Regions from separate parts of the Homo sapiens genome. Here all the other regions are linked to region 2. Evidence: promoter capture Hi-C in human tissues and cell types (Jung and others, 2019). All regions are on one chromosome and are shown on one strand. Each heading gives the region's core, a stretch centred on a gene start or on the middle of the fragment in contact. The rest is flanking DNA. Distances are from core to core; before and after follow the strand shown. Region 1 overlaps RAB11FIP4 (RAB11 family interacting protein 4). Region 2 holds the start of RHOT1 (ras homolog family member T1). Region 3 has its middle 2.6 kb from the start of TRT-CGT4-1.

Region 1 (2,805 bases), core at 17-2,516, 720 kb before region 2:
GCGCCCAGCAGGTTTGTAGTTTTCTTATATTGCTTTTGTTTGGTTTGGGTAACAGGGTATTATTGCTGGCCCCATAAAACGAGTTGGGAAGTGGCTCTTCTATTCTCTGGAAGAGGTAGTGTAGAATTTATGTATATTTTCCTTAAATACTTAGTGAAATTATCTGGTCCTGAGGTTTTCCTTTTTGGAAGGATATAAATTGGGAAATTAATTTCTTTAATCACTCAAGGACTGTTCAGATTATCTATTTCTTCTTGCATGAGTTTTGGTAGTTTGTGTTTTTCAAAGAATTGGTCCATTAGCTCATCTAAGTTGTAGAAATTATGTGTGTAGAAGTGTTTCTAGTGTTCCCTTATTAGCCTTTTAAAGGATGTAAGACTGTAATGATATCTCTGTTTTCTTTTTTTTCGAGACAAGGTCACACTCTGTCACCCAGGCTAGAGTGCAGTGGTGTAATCAAGGCTCACTGCAGCCTTGACCTCCCTGGCTCAAGCGATCCTCCCACCTCACCCAACCCCGGTAGCTGGGACCAGAGGCATGTGCCACCATGCTTGGCTAATTTTTTTAATCTTTTGTAGAGATGGGGTCTTGCTATGTTGCCCAGGCTGATCTTGAATGCCTGGTCTCAAGCGATCCTCCCACCTTGGCCTCCCAAAGTGCTGGGATGACAGGTGTGAGCCACTGTGCTCAGCCTCATTTTTTATATTGGTGATTTGTATTCTCTCTCTCTTTCTCTCTGTCATTCTGGTTAGAGATGCATCAGTTTTGTTAATCTTTTCAAAAAAAAAACCAGATTTGGGTTTTGTTGATTTTTCTCTACCAGTCTCATTTTTAATTTTATTAATTTCTGCTCTTATCTTTATTATTTCTTTCCTCCCTTTTGCTTTGGGCTTGAATTTTATGGTATTGTATTTTCATTTTCATTTAGTTTAAATTATTTTTATTTTCTCTTGAGACTTTGGGGCTGGGTGCGGTGGCTCATGCCTGTAATCTCAGCACTTTGGGAGGCCGAAGGGGGTGGATCACCTGAGGTCGAGAGTTCAAGCCCAGCCTGACCCATATGAAGAAACCCCATCTCTACTAAAAAATACAAAATTAGCCAGGCATGGTGGTGCATGCCTGTAATCCCAGCTACTCGGGAGGTTGAGGCAGGAGAATTGCTTGAACCCGGGAGGCAGAGGTTGCAGTGAGCCGAGATCACGCCATTGCACTCCAGCCTAGGCAACAAGAGCAAAACTCCATCTCAAACAAACAAACAAACAAAAAGATACTTCATCTTTGACTCATGAATTATTTAGACACATACTGCCTAATTCCCAAGTATTTGAGGATTTTTCAGATGCCTTTCTGTTTTTGATTTTTTTGCTTGTTTTAAAATTTCTTTTCTTTTCTTTTTTTTTGAGACAGTCTCGCTCTGTTGCCCAGGCTGAAGTGCAGTGTGTGATCTCAGCTCACCGAAATCTCCATCTCCCAGGTTCAAGTAATTCTCGTGCTTCAGCCTCTCAAGTAGCTGGGATTATAGGCACAGGACACCATGCCCAGCTAATTTTTGTATTGTTAGTAGAGATGGGGTTTCACCATGTTGCCCAGGCTGGTCTTGAACTCCTGACCTCAAGTGATCCACCTGCCTCAGCCTCCAAAAGCTCTGGGATTACAAACGTGAGCCACTGAGCCCTGAGACTGATTTTTAGTTTAATTATATTATAGTCACAGGACTTTTTTTTTTTTTTTTTTGAGACAGAGTTTTGCTCTTGTTGCCCAGGCTGGAGTGCAATAGCGCAATCTCGGCTCACTGCAAACTTCGCCTCCTGGGTTCAAGTGATTCTCTTGCCTCAGCCTCCCTAGTAAGCTGGGATTACAGGTGCCCACCACCACGCCCAGCTAATTTTTTGTATTTTTAGTAGGGATGGGGTTTCACTATGTTGGCCGGGCTGGTCTCAAACTCCTGACCTCAGGTGATCCACCTGCCTCAGCCCCTCCCAAAGTGCCAGGATTATAGATGTGAGCCACCACGCCCGGCAAGACATACATTTATAATTTCAGTTTTTAAAAATTTGTTGCCAGACTCTGTGGCTCATGCCTGTAATCCCAGCACTTTGGGAGGCTAAGGCAGGAGGATCTCTTGAGGCCAGGAGTTCGAGACCAGCCTGGGCAACATAGTGAGACCCCCCGTCTCTACAAGAAAATTAGCTGGGCGTGTTGACATATCCCTGTAGTCCCAGCTACTCGGGAGGCTGAGGTGGGAGTATTGCTTGAGTCTGGGAGGTGGAGGCTGCAGTGAGCTATGATCACACCGCTGCACTCCAGCCAAGGTGACAGAGTAAGATCCTGCCTCCCCACCACACACAAAAAAAGTATTATAGTTTGTTTAATCGTCCAAGATATGATCTACATGATCTACCTTGGTGACAGTTCCATGTTTACATGAAGAGAACGTGTATTCTGCTATTCTTGGGTGGTGTGTTCGATAAACATCAATTAGGTTAAGCTGGTTAGTGGTGGTATTCAGACCTTTTAGATCCCTTGTTGATTTTTCATCTAACTAGCTCTACTGTTAAAAATTAGATTTTCTATCTAACTGGTTATATTCTCTAGAGGAGTGTTGAAGTCTCCAACTATGATTGTCAATTTGTCTATTTCTCCTTTCAATTTTATTAGTTTGGCTTCATGTATTTTGAAGCTCTGTTTTTAGGGACATATGCATTTAGGATTGTTATGTATCTTCTTGGTGAGTTGACCCTTTAATATAATGTTTGTCTGAATCCTTGGTAATTTTCCTTGTTTGGATTAGGCAATTTCTGTTGT
Region 2 (2,823 bases), core at 101-2,600:
CTGCACTCCAGCCTGGGCGACAGAGCGAGACTCCGTCTCAAAACAAAACCAAAACAAAACAAAAAATCTGTGGATTACAACTTTTTAGTGACTTTTTAATATAATAATGATAGCTGAGATCAGTAGAGCACACGCTCTGAGTCTGGCACTGTACCAAATGCTTGACAAGTATTATAGTATTTATTACTCACAACCATCTCAAGAGGAAGGTATTATCATCATTATTTCCATGCTACAGAAGAAGGAACAGTGGCTGAGGGAAGTAAAAATAAAAGCACTTAGTCGAGATCACAGAGCTATTATGTGGAGCCTAGATTCAAACCCAGGAAATTTGCCAGCAACTCTTAACTGCTGCAAGAGACCACATGACTTCTCCTAGGAGAAAGGGAAGTTGGTATTACGCACATTTCATTCCCTTTAAGTGTTTATTGTGTAATATTTAAGATAGAAAAAATGTACATTATGCACAGATAGTGCTTCCTCATTAATTTATGTATTTTATATTTCCCACTGTGTGCCAAGTATTAGGGATGTGATATATATTCGCACGCGTATGTATATATATATATTTGCCATTGTGTACCAAACATTAAGCATGTAACAACAAATTCCTCCAGATGGAGAGGGTCACGAGAAAATTAAGGCAATGTTAGAAAAATCATCTAGAGTTTATTATCGAGTGCCACCTCCGTGTCTAGCATTACGCTGGGTAAGCCTGAGTAAAGAAGAGTGTCCGAAAACCCTGCCATAAAATAAACTACATAGACAGAAAAAAAGTCACTTAGTTTGGTTATAAAGAAAGGAGTCTTGTTCACACAGCGTAAAAACGAATCTTATAATCGTATTTTATAAGCATCAGAGGCAAAAGCAACTAGGGTGACGGGCTTTGGGGAGTGGAAAGCGCCGGATCCTGGGAGCCAGTCGCCCTACTCGATCAAGCATTTTCTGACGGCCCTATCCAATAACGTGGGGACGCAGCTGAAAACCATGCAAGCTGATCGCTGCCCTCCCGGAGTTTATGGTCTGGTGAGAAGATCCCTGCTCTGAGTCACTGCCAAGCTCTAGCTATGTGACTTTGAACAGGGAATTTCTGTCCCTATCTATAAAATAAACGGGGTTAAACCAGGGAATCCGCCATTCAAATTCCTGGCCCAAGTGTCTCCGGGGTCGCGGTGCCCAAAGGAGGGTGGGCGAGGCTCCCTGGGCCTGCGCTGCGGCGGCCTGACAGCGGGAGCGCTGTTCCGGCGCAGAGCGCGTTCGCGTTCCGAAAGCGCGTGTCCCTCGCCGCGTGCCGTCGTCCCCGCCGCCGCCGCCGCCGCCGCCGCCGCCGCCGCCGCCGCCGCCGCCGCCACAGCCCGCTGGGCCGGAGGAGGCGGAGCTGGCGCTGTCCCGGCTCTCTTGCGGGGAAGCAACTGAGGGGGCGGCGCGGCGGGCCCCGGCGGCCGAAGAGGCTGGCAGGTGGCGCCGTGGGGTGGGTGCTCCTGGTGAGAGGAGTCCACTCCGTGCGTGCGGGCGGAGGCCGGCCCCCGAGAGCCGCCGACATGAAGAAAGACGTGCGGATCCTGCTGGTGGGAGAACGTGAGTCCGCACCCTCTGGCCGGCCCCTGAGTCCCTGCCCTCCCTGCCCCTGCAGCCCCTGTCGCCCCTGTCGCCCCTGCAGCCCCAACCTTTGCAGCCCCGGCCCTTCTCGCGCCTCACAGCTCCGCTCGCCTTTCTCCGCGTTCCTAGGCCTTCCAGCCCCTTCACTCTTCTCTTTTGGCTGGCCGCCGGCGGCCCTCACCCTGTCACCTCACCTGGGCCCTCCAGAGATCTCCTTTCCCTGTTCCCCAGCCGTCCTCCCAAGCCATGTCCCTATTAGCCCTAACCGCCCGACCTCATCCCTCCGAAGCTTCTCTCCTCCTTTTCCTCTTCGAACCCTGTCCTTCTGGGCCTCACAGTTTCCCAGGCCGCCTCCTTTCAGACCTTCTTGTCTTCTGGAGATTCCCTTATCACTGCCAGGCAGGTGCTGGAATAAGCAGACTGACCAATAGGGATTGCGTGAACCGGCTCCCGGGGAAGCTGGGGGAGGGGTGCAGAACTATTCGACTTGTGGGCAAGGTCAGGTTTCTGCATTTTTTTGGCACTCGCAGTCTTCACTCTCTCTATGTATTGACATTAAGATATGAGTAGTGGAAAGGGCCGGATCCTTTTTAGCAGTACTTGTACTTTGCATTGGACTAACTCCTCGTACTCGAGATATTTCATCAAAAATTTTTACTCAACTTCGAGTTATGCAAGCGCTCAATGAATTAGAATTATCTGGGGAGGGTCCAATTGTTGTTACCCTAAAGCGTAATCTTTGCCCTCTTTTTAAGCATTATTTATTCCATAGTTACTTCGTAGTTAACTTATTAATAACCACAGGCACACAGACATTTGATATCTCCCCCCACCCAGAAATTTCATACATTTCACCTTTTGAAAATATAATAAAGGAGAGTTCCCTCTGTTCACTGACATGAGGACGCAACAGCGGGGACTTCTTGATTTCACTCTGCAAGTTATGTAACTCAGTTGCTAGGACTAAAATAAGAAAGTGGGCCAGGGATAACTGGATTGTTTGTTTTAAAGAGTTAATACATTCGTTAATAGTCTGCCATTGCTGTTTCGAAGCATTCTGTTTTAAACCATTATTTCATTCTTGGTAACCCCTCAGGGTCACCGTGATGGAATCCCAAGGAAGAAAGTTAACACGTTTTTACCCTCTTCTGTAGTGTTCTTTGAGTTCATTGAAATTTCATCCACCTGCTGTTTGGAGAAATCTTCCTTTAGAATTAGAATTTA
Region 3 (2,864 bases), core at 80-2,579, 590 kb before region 2:
ACTGGATATTGCCTTGAATCCTGTCCCTTCAAATTCCTGATGAGAAGGAGCTTCAAGACTGAACATTGTGTTTTCCGTTTTTTTTTTTTTTTTTTTTTTTTTTGAGACGGAGTCTCGCTCTGTGGCCCAGGCTGGAGTGCAGTGGCGCGATCTCGGCTCACTGCAAGCTCCGCCTCCTGGGTTCACGCCATTCTCCTGCCTCAGCCTCCCGAGTAGCTGGGACTACAGGCGCCCGCCACCATGCCCGGCTAACTTTTTTTGTATTTTTTAGTGGAGACGGGGTTTCACCGTGTTAGCCAGGATGGTCTCCATCTCCTAACCTCGTGATCCACCCACCTCGGCCTCCCAAAGTGCTGGGATTACAGGCATGAGCCACCGTGCCCGGCCAAACATTGGGTTTTCTGAAGGAGCTGGAGCAGAGAATTCCACCCCAGCGGAGGGCAGAGGGACAAGCCAAGCCGAAGTCAATATAAGAGAAATGCAAGGGGCCGGGTGCAGTGGCTCACACCTGTAATCCTAGCACTTTGGGAGGCCAAGGTGGATGGATCACTTGAGGTCAGGTGTTTGAGACCAGCCTGGGCAACACAGCAAAATCCCATCTCTATAAAAAATACAAAAACTGCCAGCCGCAGTGGCTCACGCCTGTAATCCCAGCACTTCGGGAGGCTGAGGCAGGCAGATCACTTGAGGTCAGGAGTTTGAGACCAGCCTGGCCAACATGGCGAAACCCTGTCTCTATTTAAAATACAAAAAAATTAGCGGGCATGGTGGCACATGCCTGTAGTCCCAACTGCTCTGGAGGCTGAGGTGGGAGAATCGCTTGAGCCCAGAGGGTCGAGTTTGCAGTAAGCTGAGATGGTGCCACTGCACTCCAGCCTGAGAGACAATGAGAAACTGTCTCAAAAAAAAGTGCAAGGTACAGAAGAGGTCAGTGTAAAGATTTTGGGGAAACATGGGCTTCCAAAAGTGAAGGACCAGAGGCAGGGGTCAAGTATGGATTCCAGGTCAAGTTTTGTGAGAGGAACTAGAAGTGAAGGCAAGTCAGATACAAGCACCAGGGTGAGCCTGGGGAACAGAAATCTTGTAATTACCTTGAAGGCCAGCAGGTATCTACATGCACCCCTGTGGAGCCAGGGGTAGGTCATTGGCTTAAAGAATAAGGACAGAATTGAAGGCAGGGGCAGAAAGGGACACATATGTTGAGTTTGTTGCATGACCTCCATTAAATCGCTGATACTCCCTGGACTTCAGCTTCCTTAGTTGTAAAATTCTACAGTTGAAAGAGCTATGTCCTAAATGCCTTGTGTCCTGAAATTCTAGGTTTCTACCTCAGAGCCTGGACCTTGCAGAAGCAAGGGGATCACAGGCCACCCCACCCATCATAGTAGCCCCTTCTGCAATGGGGCTTGACCATTGCAACCTCATGATGAGATGTGACCAGGGCTCCTCCATCCAGGGAGTTATAAGCAGTCCTCCCTGATGGGAAGCGCTGGAGCTGCAAAGGCTCCGCCCATGCTGGTTACCCCTGGTAGAGTCCTCCCTTTTGCTCCTCCTTAGTGTCCAGGGCAAAACATAGGGCCTCTGGTACTGCATTTTGAGAGCCACGCAGGCAGACACAGTCATTTGTGGGCAGCTAAAACCTCCAGGATATTTTTTAAAACATAGACCAGAATTTGGCAAGTCTATATATTATGCCTCATTCTATAAGTTTTAGCCCAATACCAGCCTGGAGAAATATGCTTTTTTTTTTGTTGTTTTTTTTTTTTGAGACGGAGTTTCACTCTTGTCACCCAGGCTGGAGTGCAGTGGTGCGATCTTGGCTCACTACAACCTCCGCCTCCTGGGTTCAAGCAGTTCTTCTCCCTCAGCCTCCCGAGTAGCTGGGATTACAGGCACTTGCCACCATGCCCGGCTAATTTTTGTATTTTTAATAGAGACAGGGTTTCACCATGTTGGCCAGGCTGGTCTCGAACTCCTAACCTCGTGATCTGCCTGCCTCAGCCTCCCAAAGTGCTGGGATTACAGGCGTGAGCCACCGTGCCCAGCCCAAGAAATATGTTTTTAAGTCTTTTACCATACAATAAAACAAATTTGAAAACCACACAAATCAAGTGAATGCCTTAATGAATTATAAGGGGAACACTATCCAAATTAGAGAATTTTGCCGGATACCCCAGAAACCCTTTTTGTGTGTCCCCCCCTAATCACAACCTCCCCAGGGCCATAAGTATCCTTACCCTCTAATCACTTCCTTGCATTTTAGTTTATCACCTAATTGAGCATCGCGACATCTTTGTACACTATAGTTTAACTTTGCTCATTTAAAAAAATGGATAGAAGCTTTTTTTTTCAATCAGGAGGTACCCCTTCCTTCCCTTTCATTTCCTGGCAGTGTGTCTGTTGAGGACCCTGGGCCACTGCACCTGGAGGGTTTCCCACAGTCTAGATCTTGCTTACTGCAAACTCTTGGTGCAACCCAGTAAGCTCCTCAGTCCTCAGTACTTCCTGCAAATCAAATTGGCAGTTAGATCCAGACGCTGGATCGGAGTCAGGTTGGTTGCCTGTGGCGAGACTCTGGTATTACCTCCTCTGAGAAGCCTCTGATTCCCCCAGGTAAGGAGTCCCTCAGTTTCTTGTCTGGGACCCCTCTGTGTGTCTCACACCATACTTGGAAGCCCCTTAGGACTTGGATGGTGTCTCACTCATGTCTGTGTTTCCAGCAGCTGGAACAGAGACAGAGCCTTGGCACAAGGAAGGTCCTGACCTGAAGGGCTAAGGAAGACTTCCCTGAGGAGTGACATTGTGGCTGGGCTCTGCAGGATGAATACGAACTCACCAGAGCACAACCAGGTCTTGGGTATCTC

Evidence for each region. The method cuts DNA at HindIII sites, captures the fragments that hold promoters and counts their contacts. A contact is called where the count stands out against the background at its distance.
Region 1: a fragment that was not itself captured here is called in contact with the fragment with the promoter of RHOT1 in region 2 in 1 of the 25 tissues and cell types used here (dorsolateral prefrontal cortex).
Region 3: a fragment that was not itself captured here is called in contact with the fragment with the promoter of RHOT1 in region 2 in 1 of the 25 tissues and cell types used here (lymphoblastoid cells).

What each region holds. Positions count from the first base shown.
Region 1 is chr17:31,419,840-31,422,644 of GRCh38, forward strand. The region is part of intron 1 of RAB11FIP4 (RAB11 family interacting protein 4); the gene reads left to right. Among named protein-coding and RNA genes, the nearest start is that of RAB11FIP4, 30 kb to the left of the region's middle. The HindIII fragment of the contact is 9,425 bases long and covers 1-2,805 here.
Region 2 is chr17:32,141,152-32,143,974 of GRCh38, forward strand. It overlaps RHOT1 (ras homolog family member T1), which reads left to right and starts at 1,351. Exons shown (of 20, transcript NM_001033566.3): 1 at 1,351-1,578. The coding sequence starts at 1,542. LOC105371730 (a long non-coding RNA gene) reads right to left here and starts at 1,984. Exons shown (of 2, transcript NR_136413.1): 1 at 1,874-1,984; 2 at 75-1,562. RefSeq lists an enhancer at 682-851 and silencers at 1,312-1,541, 1,572-1,631. The HindIII fragment of the contact is 2,047 bases long and covers 313-2,359 here.
Region 3 is chr17:31,551,249-31,554,112 of GRCh38, forward strand. No RefSeq gene overlaps it. Among named protein-coding and RNA genes, the nearest start is that of TRT-CGT4-1, 2.6 kb to the left of the region's middle. The HindIII fragment of the contact is 6,994 bases long and covers 1-2,864 here.